Linked DNA regions of Homo sapiens: regions 1, 2, 3 and 5 are each linked to region 4. Evidence: promoter capture Hi-C in 16 types of primary human blood cells and fetal thymus (Javierre and others, 2016). All regions are on one chromosome and are shown on one strand. The core of a region is centred on a gene start or on the middle of the fragment in contact, and the rest is flanking DNA. Distances in the headings are between cores, read along the strand shown. Region 1 overlaps WDR7 (WD repeat domain 7). Region 2 overlaps WDR7 (WD repeat domain 7). Region 3 overlaps WDR7 (WD repeat domain 7). Region 4 holds the start of FECH (ferrochelatase). Region 5 overlaps WDR7 (WD repeat domain 7).

What was found. The method cuts DNA at HindIII sites, captures the fragments that hold promoters and counts their contacts. A CHiCAGO score of 5 or more calls a contact.
Region 1: a fragment that was not itself captured here is called in contact with the fragment with the promoter of FECH in region 4 in 2 of 17 cell types (megakaryocytes and naive CD4 T cells); the score reaches 5.5 in megakaryocytes.
Region 2: a fragment that was not itself captured here is called in contact with the fragment with the promoter of FECH in region 4 in 2 of 17 cell types (megakaryocytes and naive CD8 T cells); the score reaches 7.8 in megakaryocytes.
Region 3: a fragment that was not itself captured here is called in contact with the fragment with the promoter of FECH in region 4 in 8 of 17 cell types (naive CD4 T cells, fetal thymus, naive CD8 T cells and 5 more); the score reaches 9.2 in naive CD4 T cells.
Region 5: a fragment that was not itself captured here is called in contact with the fragment with the promoter of FECH in region 4 in 12 of 17 cell types (total CD4 T cells, megakaryocytes, naive CD4 T cells and 9 more); the score reaches 11.5 in total CD4 T cells.

What each region holds. Positions count from the first base shown.
Region 1 is chr18:56,780,603-56,783,302 of GRCh38, reverse strand. WDR7 (WD repeat domain 7) reads right to left here. Exons shown (of 28, transcript NM_015285.3): 19 at 1,647-1,770. Among named protein-coding and RNA genes, the nearest start is that of WDR7, 130 kb to the right of the region's middle. The HindIII fragment of the contact is 531 bases long and covers 1,090-1,620 here.
Region 2 is chr18:56,720,675-56,723,374 of GRCh38, reverse strand. The region is part of intron 13 of WDR7 (WD repeat domain 7); the gene reads right to left. Among named protein-coding and RNA genes, the nearest start is that of WDR7, 71 kb to the right of the region's middle. The HindIII fragment of the contact is 3,970 bases long and covers 1-2,700 here.
Region 3 is chr18:56,764,609-56,767,308 of GRCh38, reverse strand. All of the region lies in intron 16 of WDR7 (WD repeat domain 7), which reads right to left. Among named protein-coding and RNA genes, the nearest start is that of WDR7, 110 kb to the right of the region's middle. The HindIII fragment of the contact is 257 bases long and covers 1,289-1,545 here.
Region 4 is chr18:57,585,348-57,588,047 of GRCh38, reverse strand. FECH (ferrochelatase) reads left to right here and starts at 1,346. Exons shown (of 11, transcript NM_000140.5): 1 at 1,346-1,494. The coding sequence starts at 1,428. RefSeq lists silencers at 1,165-1,524, 1,535-1,594, 1,605-1,654. The HindIII fragment of the contact is 11,690 bases long and covers 1-2,700 here.
Region 5 is chr18:56,744,915-56,747,614 of GRCh38, reverse strand. The region is part of intron 14 of WDR7 (WD repeat domain 7); the gene reads right to left. Among named protein-coding and RNA genes, the nearest start is that of WDR7, 95 kb to the right of the region's middle. The HindIII fragment of the contact is 6,804 bases long and covers 1-2,700 here.

The DNA.
Region 1 (2,700 bases), core at 106-2,605, 800 kb after region 4:
AAAGTTCTTTTCATCCCAATTTTATTTTTTTGAAACTCTTTTTTATATTCTGGAAATTTGAAAATCTGCACATATTTTTAAAACAATCTTAAGCCTAATAACTTAGAGTCTATATGTCTAGATGCCTTGTTTTTTTTTTTAACTTAATTTGCTTTATTAAAATAGAAAAATTTCCAGAAAGCAAATGATAACCTATATTCACTAAGTAAATATTTTATTGCTCAAACAATTAAGAATTTTCACTGGAGCTGTTAATGTGTGATACTTCGGCTATAAGTGAAATAAATATTTGCATTTTTATAGATTATAAAGTATTTAACAAAAGTATTATGCTTACTATGGGCTAGGAATTGTTCTACGCACTTAACAAAGATTAACTCATGCCACACACATAATAACCCTATAAAGTCCTATTATCATCTTTATTTCATCTGCGATAAAACTGAGACTAAGAAAGCTTAAGAAAAGTGCCCAAGGTCACATGCTTGATTAAACATCCACTAGAGTCACCACTGGCAAAGATCTGGTAGAGTTTAAACCAGATATAAAAGTTATAAACCTTTCTGAATTTTGTTTTCATTTTCCTTCTTGTATAATAATGTACTGTCCATCTTGACATGTGTAATGAGTATTTCATTACAAAGAATAACTGGTATTGGCAAAAGGTCATTTAAAATGAGTCCACCTAAAACCCAGGCCAAATTTTCATAATAAAAAGTTTTTTTTAAAGTTTCACTCACACTTTATCTTGCAAAACTGAAAATTTATCTTACAATGAATATAATTTAGGGTAAAATTTTAATTTTAATTCAATATAATTTAGGGTAAAATTTTTTAATCAATATAATTAAGAGCAAAATTAAAATTTTATTTGACTCAATTATATTGATTATAATTTAGTCACTTAGTAACTGAGGGACCTTAAAAAAATTATTTAGTAACTAAACTGTTTTTAGAAAAATATAAAACAAACCAAACAAAAATACAAAACCAACCAAATGATGAACTGGGAATGAGTATGCTCATTATGATAGCAAAATACAACTCTTTTCCAATGCACATTCAATGTAGCAACATAATTATAAAGCTTTTATTTTGCAAAAGAATATTCAAAAAATTTCAACAATTTTTCTAATCCTTTCAAATTATACTCTTTTGAAAGATTTATCCATCAAAATCCTTCCCAATTTTCTCTTTGTAAATATTGCCTGAGTCTAACTCTATCAGATCTTTGTTTTTCTAAGGATTCACAATCCCAACTTTAACTAGCAAGAGAGTTTGCCTTGTATCTGCACTTGCATATCATCAGATCCATATCGAACAAGCTGGCATCCATAAGCATAATAATGCAATGGGCGGAGGCACATGTTAGTACTAGAGTAGGATGTTTGATGGGGAATTCATTTATAAAAGTCAGTTCATTAATGAATATTTTGATATAGACAGCCTTTGCCTTTTGTTTTTTAAAGCAAGTTCCAAACTACAGAGATTCAGAAAATAATAAAGTGAATTTGAGGATCTGTTCTTTTCACTTTAAGGTCAGTGACTCATTTTTGTTGATGGGTAGTAGCATATATATTTGTGAGTACAGGTACCTTTTCTACATATTCCTGCAAAGCTTTGTAGAGAAGCATGAGAACTCTTACGTGATATGACGTGGTCTATGTACTGAGGTAAGTAAGGAGCCCAGGCATCAATGGCTTCCTTCCTGCCTGCCTGCTCAATTCTTCTCAGTTCCGCCAGAAGCAGGGCCTGCGCGGCTTCTCTCACCTAAGACCACAGACCCAAATGTAAAAGCAGAAAGCAGATTAGTTGAGGAGGTGAATATTCATAAACTAGAAAATTTATAATGAAATAAGGCTAGAAAACATAAAAACCATATTTATTTACATGAAAAACACTATTAACCGAATGAGTTAACTACTTAAAAATCAGATGCTAGCAAATCATCAAAGATATTTTAATTAATGATTTCACTGAAAACTATTTTAACACTAATGGAAAGAATTAGGTTTCAACAATTTAATCACTGCATTTTCCAAAGCATTCTTGAACTTTAAAACTGCATTTTCCAAAGCATTTTTGAACTTTAATGTAGCATTTTACTTTTAAAATTTCTATATTAACATTATTGTTAAGCCACTGTGAGAGCTATTGTTTTTTTAGCTTGAAGTTAACCTTATCTATTTAATTTCTTTATATTATATATGCTAAGTAGATACTATTTATACAAACAAATACGTATAAGTTAACATGATTCACGTATACCTAAGACATGCTTAAACAATGTTTTTGACAAATAAATATTCCTGTATAAAGGCATAACTTATTTTAGTTTTATAGAGGAAATCATTTTTCAAAATTATATATTTTTCTTTCAATGTAGCATACAAATTTTATTTTGCAGTTTTAATTTAGTGTTATTTTGGCAAAAATGCCACAGGCATGAAGTCAAAAAAGCTAGTCAATTATTAAGTGCTGTACCAATTTATTAACTTTTTCTGAGACCAAGTGTTGCCCTGTTGACCAGGCTGGAGTGCCATGGCGTGATCTCGGCTCACTGCAACTTCCACCTCCCGGGCTCCAGTAATACTTGGGCCTCAGCCTCCCAAGTAGCTAGGACTACAGGCGTATGCCACCACGACCGGCTAATTTTTTTTTGTATTTTTAGTAGAGACAGGGTTTCACCATGTTGCCCAG
Region 2 (2,700 bases), core at 185-2,684, 860 kb after region 4:
TATTAGACAAAAGAAAAATGACTCCAGGCAAAATCTATATCTACACAAAGCAATAAAGAGCAATGGAAATGGTGACTACATAAGTAAATATGCAAGACTGCATTCTTATTACTCAAATTTCCTTAAAATATCATAGATACTTTTGTTTGTTTTAAACAAAAAAAAAAAGGAAAGAAAAAAGCAATGTTCCAAGTGAGTGAAAATCACGAAAACAATATGGATGACACTAGCAAGAAGAATTGGGAGTGACCCAATTATTATTGACTAGAGCAACTGGTCTGTGTAAAAGAACAGTAAGAGGTAAAGACAGAAGGTAGGAAAGTACCACACTATGGAAGACCTTGTCTTGAAGGCTTTATGAACTAATATTGTTTATGGTTTATTCATTAAGACATTAATATGAAGCAAGTGTTGTCAGTGTTTTCTTTCCTAAGATTAATTTCCCGGCAGAGTAAAGGATGAATTAGAAGGTAGAAAGAGTAGGCAGGGTACCCAATAAAGATAGCCTAGGTATGGAAAAATATGGCCATAAATTACAATGGTACACTGGAAATAATAAAAAAGTAGTTGAGGGATACCTAATGGGAAAGACTTAGTGATTAATTGCATGGAGGGGTTGTGAGAGGAGGGAGTAGTAAGCACAGTCATATCTCCACTCTAACAACCCCTTCCTTCAAAAAGGGAAGCAATGAAAATGGTAACTACAGAGGTAGGTAAATATGTAAGATTTCATAAAGTCAATCATTAAAAGAGAAAAAAGAAACTCTCTGATTATACTTGGTTTTACCAAGGTTATAGTCAATTACCTCTTTTTCTTAACCCATTCATTCTCTGTGTCTTCCCCTGTCCTATAGCATGTTTTGTAACAGAATGAAAAGCAAAAATGTACAGAAAAGCTGATGATGTAATGGCAATATATAGTGAAATACAAATGTAAGATCTAATTTCCACTGTATTAGATACTACTGGCAAAGGGTCAAATACGTGAAGAAAACACTTGCTACTAAAACCCTCCACTAATAACAAAGGACTGAACTTCAACACTACCTCCTGATTCTCTTCAGCAATTTTAGTAACAAGAGAAAAACATCAATTTAAATGTATCAAAATAAAAGCATGAAAAACGTTTTCAAAAATTAGTCTTAAGGAAGAATAACAGTCACTAAGACTTTACTTGTATGACAATCTGAGCCCCTGAAACACATGCTTTTTGTTAGCCATGTTTTATATATGTTTTTCAAAAGACATACAAATATACATTAATTCATAATTCCCTGCTAGATTTTATTAGGTACTTAAGTTCAAAAAGATGACTCAAATGCATATTTCATGAAGTACATGCAAAAAGAGAAATATCAGAAAACATGGAGTGCAGAACATAAAAAGAAACATCACAGAACAAATAAATTCACAAGTCCTCATACACTAATTTCTGATGATATTTGTCAAGCATTAATGGTGTTTGCATTTGTATAAGAACATCTAATAATTATACATAAGGAATAGAAATATGATGTGGGAATCACTTTTGTTGTGTAGCAAGAATGATAAAAAGAAGCCAGATGAGAATGTGGTTTAGGCTTGGTAATGGCTAGATAAGAAGAACATTTTGTAACATCAGTCATTACTTTCAGCATGCCTGTTTCCCAAACAGACAGGATTCTGACCTTGTCAAAGGCCTGTGAGAATGGCACTGCATACTTACTGGGAATATGAAATGTGAAGAACGAGACGGTTGATCCCAGAAGCACATCAACAGCTCCACAGAAACCACCTAGGTCAGTGACCCACCTTTAATAACTTCGTAAGAGGGAAGCAAGAGGTTCATCTGGCTAAATCTTGTTGCTAGTGTTTGGGTAGTTTTTTAACTATTTAGAGATGTGAAAGAATAATTTCCATGGCCATTACATCACTATTACATTGCTATTACATATAAGAAAATGTCACAATAAAAGAACAAAAGATTCTAGAACTCCAGCTCTCTACATTTTGTATTACTAGCTTTGACTGGATTTCACAGGGAACTATAAACTGAAAACACAAAGTACTCATTTGAAGGAAAAAAATGTTTAAACATGCTGCATAAACGTATAAAGGAAAGACACTTCAAGTGTTTTACACTAGAAACATCAGTATAACTCAAAACAATAACTAGAAAATTGCCCAATATGCAAAACAGGGTTAATGTGGTATGGCTGCATTTGGAAAAATACATTCCTGAAACACTAACAAGAGAGATCAAGTATCTCCTCAGAGTTTAAATACATTTCATACATCAAACCCTGGCTGAATCTGATTTTTTCTAGCTTCATTTTTTATTTATTTAATAAATAAATAAATTTAATAAATAAATAATGTCAATACCTCCAGGATGTACCTTACTGACTCCCCAGGGAACTTTGTATCACTAGCTACAGCATGAACAGCAAGGAGGAAAAAAACAATGTATGCCTCCCATTATGGTTGAAATCCAAAATAAATCCAGCTTCTCTATAGCATTTATCTTGAATGTCATATTGACTGATTGTTTACCCAAATCTTCAGCATGTAATTTCAATATTACATGCTGTATTTTATCTAAATTGGGCTTAATTACACTAAACTGATTATAACAATAACCTCTTCCAGTACCCCTACAGTTAGGGCCTATTTGTCATTTCCTTCTAGAAAACTCACTAGAACAGTAACTTTGTCTATCAG
Region 3 (2,700 bases), core at 168-2,667, 820 kb after region 4:
TTCTTCAGAGGATCTCCCTCAAGTATACAGCAGAATACCAATCAGTACATGTCTGTAAAGAAACTACTCGAGCTGGGGGGAAAATATCTAAAGGACCAGAAACAGTGCCTGCTCCCAACAGCCTAAATGGAAAACCTCATAATTCACAGGGCATTGGATATTCTGGAAGGTTTGGCCTCAGTAATAGGGAGTAATTCATCTTAGAGCACTGCTCCAAATCCACCTAACAAGTCATAAAAGCAAGACCAGGAAAAAAAAGAAACTGTTTCCACATGACATAACTGCATCCCACAACAAAGCTCAAGATTTTTAAGAACACAAAAGTGTCCAGCACCCAAACAGGCAAAATTCAAACATCTCCCATCTATTCTAAGATTATCAAACACGCAAAGAGGCAGGAAAGCACAGTCCACAAGGAGGAGAATAATTAATTTAAACCAACCCAGAACTGACAGAGCTATCAAAATTATCAGTGAAGGGTGTTAAAACATTTATTATAACTGCAATCCATGTATTCAAAGCAGTTAGGTAGAGACAAGGAAAAAAAATTTTAAGACCCAAATCAAAATTCTGGGGACACATATAACAATGTCTGAGATTAAAAGTGAATTGGATGACAGCTGGGCATGGTCACTCATGCCTGCAATCCCAGCACTTTGAGGGGGCCAAACAGGGAAAATTGCTGCAGCCTGGGGGTTCAAGACCAACCTAGGCAACATAGCGAGACACTGTCTCTATAAAAAAAAATAAAAATAAATTTTTAAAGTGCACTGGATGGGACCAATGGCATATTACACATTGCTGAGAAAAGACTAATAAACTTGAAGACATTGCAATGGAAACTATCTCAATCAAAACACAGAGAGGAAAAATAATCCCGAAATAAAAGAGCACCGTGATAGGTGAAACAACTTCAATCAGCCTAACGTACATGTAATTTCAGTCCCTTAGAGAGAGGAGGGAGGAAAGGGCAGAATGAATATTTGAAGAAATAATTATTGAAAATTTTTCAAAATTAATAAACTCAATGAACCCCAACCACAAGAAACATGAAGAACACTACACTGAAGAACCACACAATCAAACTGCTCAAAACCAGTGATAAACGGAAAATCTTAAAAGCAACAAGATTAATAAAGTAATGTTACAGTCAGAGGAACAAAGATAAGAATGCTATCAGATCTTGTTAGAACTAATGCAAACAAGAAGACAACAGAATATCATCTTCAAAGCATTAAAAGATATAAAAAGTCAACCTGGAATTCTATACCAGAAAAAAAAAAAAGCTTTCAAAAACAAAGACAAACAAAGATGTTTTCAAATGTACAAAAACTTGAAGAGCAGACGCTCACTAAAAGAAAGATTAGCATGCAGGGCTTAAAACCTAGATGACAGCTTGATAGGTACAGCAAAACAACATGGCACATGTGTATCCATGTAGCAAACCTGCACGTTCAGCACATGGATCCCAGAACTTAAATAAATAAATAAATAGATAGATAGATACATACATACATACATATATACATACATAAAAAGAAAGCTTAAAGTAAGTCCTTTTGTTAGAAGAATTTTACCAGATAGAAGTCTTGATCTACACAAAGGAATGTAGAATACCAAAAAAGGTAACTACGTGGGTAAATATGTATTTTTTCTTATTTCAGTCTCTTTAAAATATAATTACTGTTAAACACAAATCACAAGAATAATTTGTGAGGTTTATAACATATATAAAAGTAAAATGCAGGACAACAGTAGCATAAAGACCAGGAGATGAGAAATGCTAATATAATATTATAAGGTTTAACATTTATATTAAATGTTAAATAGTATAATAGCACTTGAATGTACACTGTGATAACGGAAAGACATAGACTACAGACTCTAAAAAAACTACTAAAATAATAAAAATTAGCTTATAAAGCCATAAAGGAGATCAAATGGAATCATAAAAAAAATCTTTTTAGTCTAAAAGACAGCAGAAAAAGAAAAAGAACAAAAAATAAATGCAACGAAGAGAAAAATAAGGTAGTAGGATAACAGATTCAAACCTAACCATATCAACAATCACATTAAATGTAAACGGCTTATGCATCTCAAGTAAAAAGCAGGTCAGATTGGATTAAAAAATAAGACCCACTATATGCTGCCCACAAGAAACACATCTTAAATATAAAGAGCCAAATAGGTAAAAAGTAAAAGGATGAGAAAAGATTATACTATGTTAACAGTAGCCAAAAATGCTGAAATTACTGTATTATTATAAACAAAGTAAATTTCAAAGCAAAGGACATTACCAAGGATAAAGAAGGTCATTTCATAATGACGAGGGTCAAATAATCAAGAAGAAATAAAAATTCCAAAGGTTTATGCACCTAATAAGAGAGCTTCAAAATACATGAAGCAAAAACTGGGATAGAAATGCAAGAAGGAATAAACAAACCCATAATTATAGCTGCAGATTCAATACTCTTATTTAATTGATAAAGGCAAGCAGGCAGAAAAATCAGCAAGTATATACTAAACTTGAACACGGGCAACTTGACCTGACTGACAGTTATAAAATATTCCACCCAACAACAGCAGAATACACATTCTTCTGAAGTACACACAGTATATTTACCAAGACAGACTATATTTTGGGCCATAAAACAAGTCTCAATAAATTCAAAAGGATTCACATTGTATAACATGGAGACT
Region 4 (2,700 bases), core at 97-2,596:
CTATAATTTTTTTATGAGGGTAGAGAATAGCCACACATATAAGGAAGGTGGGTTGATACCTGGAGCAGGTTTTACTGTGCTTTTCTCAGGACATCCGCTTGGATATGAAGATCATGTAGGTAATATGAAAGGCTATCCATTTAATTTGACATTTTGCATTGGGCTTATAACCATCAGGAGGACCAACTTTAATAAGAAATAAACTAATTCCATCAGTAGCACATATTTAAGCTACAGAAAACTGGGTTTCAGCTGAATCTAGACTCCATCTTCCCTGAATGTTCCATATGGCTTGCCCCCTTTGCTCAAATGTGTATAAGGCCTTTGCTCGAATGTGTGAGACTCTGACCCACCTGCTTCAAATTGCATTAGTCCCTTCCCCCACCCTACCCCATCTCTTTTACCTTGCTTCATTCTTCTTTTGTCCTGAGAGGGAAAAAGAAGAGGGGAGGCCGTGGAAGGGCTCCATCATTCAAAGTATTACATGTTGTGATTATTTTCTGTGTCTCCCCTAACCCCATGTAAGCCCCCGTCTACTCTTTTCACTACTGTTTTCCCAGTGCACATAGTAGGTGCTCAATATTTGTTCAATGAATACCGATGCCTGAGACCTTTCTGTACCAAGGGCTGGTTTCCTACTCCACAATGCACTGAACATATATAGGCAGGGTGGGCTGACGGAGGTGTAGGAATGAAATGGGCGCCTGTTCCTCCCAGTGATCTCAGTGTGCGACCTTGGGGGCGGGACGGGCGGCTAAACTGGGAAGGTGCGCGGATATGATACAGACAAACCTCATCATACCGTCCCTCCAAGAAATGCACTTGCCAGGCTGGCCTTCACTTTTCCTAATGCTCTTCAGTGAGTTTCACCTGTCAAATTCTGCTACACAGAGAGGGTGCAGAGAAACTGAATAATCCCTTTTTCTATTCTGAAAATAAAGCAAAACAAAACAGGATCTGCACACTTGTGTTGTGACTAGGCAGGCAAACTGGAGAACTGAGGCAAAAGCATCCTTATATCTAAATAATAGTAATGGAAACGTCGAAAAAAGTTATTTGCTGAGTCATGGCTGAGGATCCTGACTTCGCTAGTTTGGCAGATGCAAACAGGGCACGCAACTAGGAGTCCAGCAGGTTTTGCAGTGACCTGCGATGGTGGTGGGGAGCGGGCTTCTAGCTCAGCCCCCGGGCCCATTTTCACGCAGGGAGCGGCGCCCAGCTGGGGCGGGCTCTCCGCGAGGGGCGTGTCTCTGCCTGGCCTCGCCCGCCCCGGCCCGGCAGCGAATGAGCGGGCGCGCCGGGAGGGCGCGAGGTCAGGGGGCTGGGGACGCGCGTGGGGATCGCTACCCGGCTCGGCCACTGCTGGGCGGACACCTGGGCGCGCCGCCGCGGGAGGAGCCCGGACTCGGGCCGAGGCTGCCCAGGCAATGCGTTCACTCGGCGCAAACATGGCTGCGGCCCTGCGCGCCGCGGGCGTCCTGCTCCGCGATCCGCGTAAGTGGGTCTGTCGCGGCGGCCGCCAGGGCCAGGATCCCTGAGAAGGCGTGGGCAGAGCGGGCAGCTGGCGCCCGGGCCCTCGCGCCCGGGGGATTCGGGGAGCGGCCTTGGGGGTGCTGCGAGCAACCGGGCGAGGGGCGTCGCGGAGAAGGGAGGGCTGAGGGCAGCACTCAGGGCTCGGGAGGCCGCGGGGAGGGCGCCCGGATCCAGGAGGCGCAGGTTCAAGTCCCATCGGTCGGCTGGGTGGCTTGGAGCAGTGGCTGGAATTTCCCAGAGCCTTGGTTATTGTCACCTGCAATAACCAGGCTGTTGAGAAGATTACGCGAGGGAAGGTATGTTATGGGCCTGCCATAGAGGATAGTAAGGAAGGCATCTTCATCATCACCACCATGGACATCTGCCCTGCAGTTCCCTCCCTGCTGAGGAAAGCCCATGGTCCTTGGTCCCTCTGTGCCCACTTCTCCTTAGCAGCGGGACCCCCCGTGGGGCAGCCTGGGCTAGCGTTTTCTAGAGATATCTGGGGAACTTGTAAGACCCAGGAACAGCCTCCCACGTTTCTGATGCAAACCGTGAATAGGTTGTGACCACAGGATGAGCTGATGGGACTGTGGATCTCACACACCTGGCTGGGACAGCATTTCCAACTGTGACACCTTGAACAAGGCACCTAACCTCGCCAGAGCTTTGGTAAATGTACATTGAAATCCTAATTTTTTTTTTAAGGCTTGCCTTGAACATGAGCACCTTGCCTGGCACACAGTAGTACACAGGCATCCTCAAGATGTCTAGCCATTCATGCAGAAGGCTGCCACGAATAAGATGCTTATTCAATGCATCCGAACGGTGACTGGACACAGACCGGACATATTTTTCTAAGACGTTCGTCAGTCTGACACCTACTTGGAGTGGAGGGAATCCCCTCTGAACCTCCATATCTCATTAGACGTGCCTTTGTTAGGAAAATACTAAGGACCCAGTGTACAATGAGGCTAGCTCACTAAGGGCGCTGGGGGACAAAGGGCATTGTTTTTTAAGAAGAGGCAGCACAGTGCCAGTCGTGGGGCTGAAAGAAGTATTGAACTAATCTTTTCTTTCACTGACCTTTCCTGTGGCAAATAAAGTCTGACAGGTCCTAGATTTGAGGTCGTGGAACAATATGTGAAACTTTAAATTATTTGTAGTCTAGGTTAAAAGTGGAAAGAT
Region 5 (2,700 bases), core at 55-2,554, 840 kb after region 4:
TCTCACTTGGTTCATACCTTAGGTAGTAAAAGGCTCAACACAATGAACTACGCACTTTTCTCCCACATCAGGTAGGAACTCCCCAATGCCAGGGCCCACTGGGTGTGGGTGTAACTGATGCCCTCTCCAGCTGGTTGTAGCTTGGGGCCTAGCTTAGAGTATGCATTCAATATGTGCTGAATGAATGCATGAATCAATCAATCAAGAGTATTAAACTATGTATGTTGAACAACTATTGTGATGAATGTTTTCAAATCTGTTATCCCATTTAACTTCATTACAACCCTATTATACCAATTTTAAAACTAAAACCAAGTTGAAGATGAGAGATAAGTCAGTCAGTCACCTAAGGTCACACAGCAAGTCAATGGTGACAATACAGGAGGAAGTCAGGTTCCTCCTCTATCTGCCCACCACTTCCTCCATGTTTTGAATAATTCTAGCTATCAGGGGACTCTCAACATTCATTCTGTAGAGATTTGAGAGAGAAGGGAGGTGGTAGAGGAAAGACTGAATCCACTCCACATTAGTGAACCTTCAAATCCTGGGTTATTTAGTGATTCAATGAACACTGTGCTGAGCACTGGAAATACAAGAAGCAATATGGTGTGGTCCTCTGAGAAGCTCTTTGTCTGATATAGAGCAGTGGTTTTGAGCAGGGGTAATTCTCCCCTCACTCCCAACGGACACTTGGTAATGTCTGGAGACACTTTGCTAGTGACGACTTGGAAGGGTGCTAATAGCATCTAGTGGGTAGAGGCTAGGGATGGTGCTAAAAATACTGCACAGGATTCCACAAGAAAAAATTATCAAGCCAAAAATGACAATAGTGTTGAGGTTGAGAAACTCTGATACAGAGAAATAGAGATGGAAACAAATACATCTACCTGCTTACTTATACTAGTACAATAGAATAAGTACTAGGATAGCAATATAATCCAAGTGCCAGAGGATCAGAGAGGAAGACCCAACTGCCCCTGTCTGATCTGGCTGTATTATACTTGAAAAATTCAGGTAGCCTTTGCAGGGACAGAGGTCACAGAACTCATGCTCATGAGATGAGTAGGAGTTAGCCAGGTGAAGGGTGGCACAAGCATATAGCAAGTACTACACTTACTGAAATAGAAGTGAAGGAGACTAAAAACCAAGTAACATTACACTGTAACAACCTAAAATCCTGGGCTATGCTGATAAATCTGCTCCCCTTTTACCATTCCCATCCTTTTTCCTACCCCGTCCTTTCTACCCATCTATTTGCCTGAGAAAATATCACTTTTACCAGAGCTGATTGCTGCTTAGTGTGATTGTGATTGAGGTGTGAATGTAATTAGGAAAAATAAGTATTTTAATACAAAATAAGAGAGAGATCAGTGGAAGACATTAACAGATCTTTGGATATTTTACCTGTTGTACTCAACTGACAGCATCATATAGAATTTCAGTCACAACCACTATGTACCAGTTATACTTCCTATACTTGGACAATGCAGTAAACTGTCTCCCTGAGATAACTGACAAATATATTTCTATTCAAGGTTAATTTTAGGGCCTGCAATACCATGTCATATAAATCATCTTACAAGATTCACACTGGAAAAAAATGTTTAAACCTTGAAATCATTGTCCCTGACTCACACACTTGCTGGCCAACCATTGTCCTAGGAAAGTTCAACATCCATATAGGTCAGTGATTTTCAACTTAGGGTCTGCAGTTGTTGGAGGTCAAGGGGCTTCTTTATGGGATGTAAAAGGATTCAAAGTAGGAGGGCAAATGACACAATGTTAAGCATAGGGTCATTTAGTAAAGTGAGTTACTAAGGTTACTTTTGCTCATTATGCTACAAGTGCTATTTTTATATTTTGCTATTTATAAACTTAAATTAGCATGTGACTAATTTTCTAGAACAAGGGTCCCCAACCTTCAGGCCAAGAACTGGTACTGGTCCACAGGTTCATGGCTTGTTAGGAACGGGGTCCTACAGCAGGAGCTGAGCGGCGGGCAAGTGAGCATTACCACCTGAGCTCCACCTCCTGTCATATCAGCAGTGGCATTAGCTTCTCATAGGAGTGAAAACCCTATTGTGAACTGTGTATGCAAGGGATTTACAGTGTGCGTTCCTTATGAGACTCTAACGCCAGTTTCATCCCGAAACCATCTACCCCAGGCCATGGAAAAACCGTCTTCCACGAAACCAGTCCCTGGTGCCAAAAAGGTTGGGGCGTGCTGTTCTGGAGACTTTCAGCATTCTAATTAGATGTCACACTATTATGAACCGTAGAGTAATGGTACAAATATTTTACTGCATATGAACACTGGACAGTGTCACATAAGGGATGCCTTGATATTCTGTGCATCGTAAGTGTGGGCTTTCAAATGCTGTTATCTTGCTTTCAAATTGCAAGTTCCTATTAGGTTCATCATTTAGTTTGGGGATTTGTACTTGCATCAACAATATTTTAAACTATAATTTTCCAAAACACATTCATAAGGCATGTATGAATCCTATTGTTAAGTCATAACTTAATCCCTACTCCCAAATTAGCCTGTTAGATGGCACTGCATTCTTATCACAAGGCTCTTTATCCAGTGGGAGGAGAAAAGACCAGGAAAGTGCACCACCAAATACTAAAAGCCATAGTGACTTTCACAACTTCCACTCCACTCAACCTCAGCCAGCCACTCCCATGGCCATGCACACT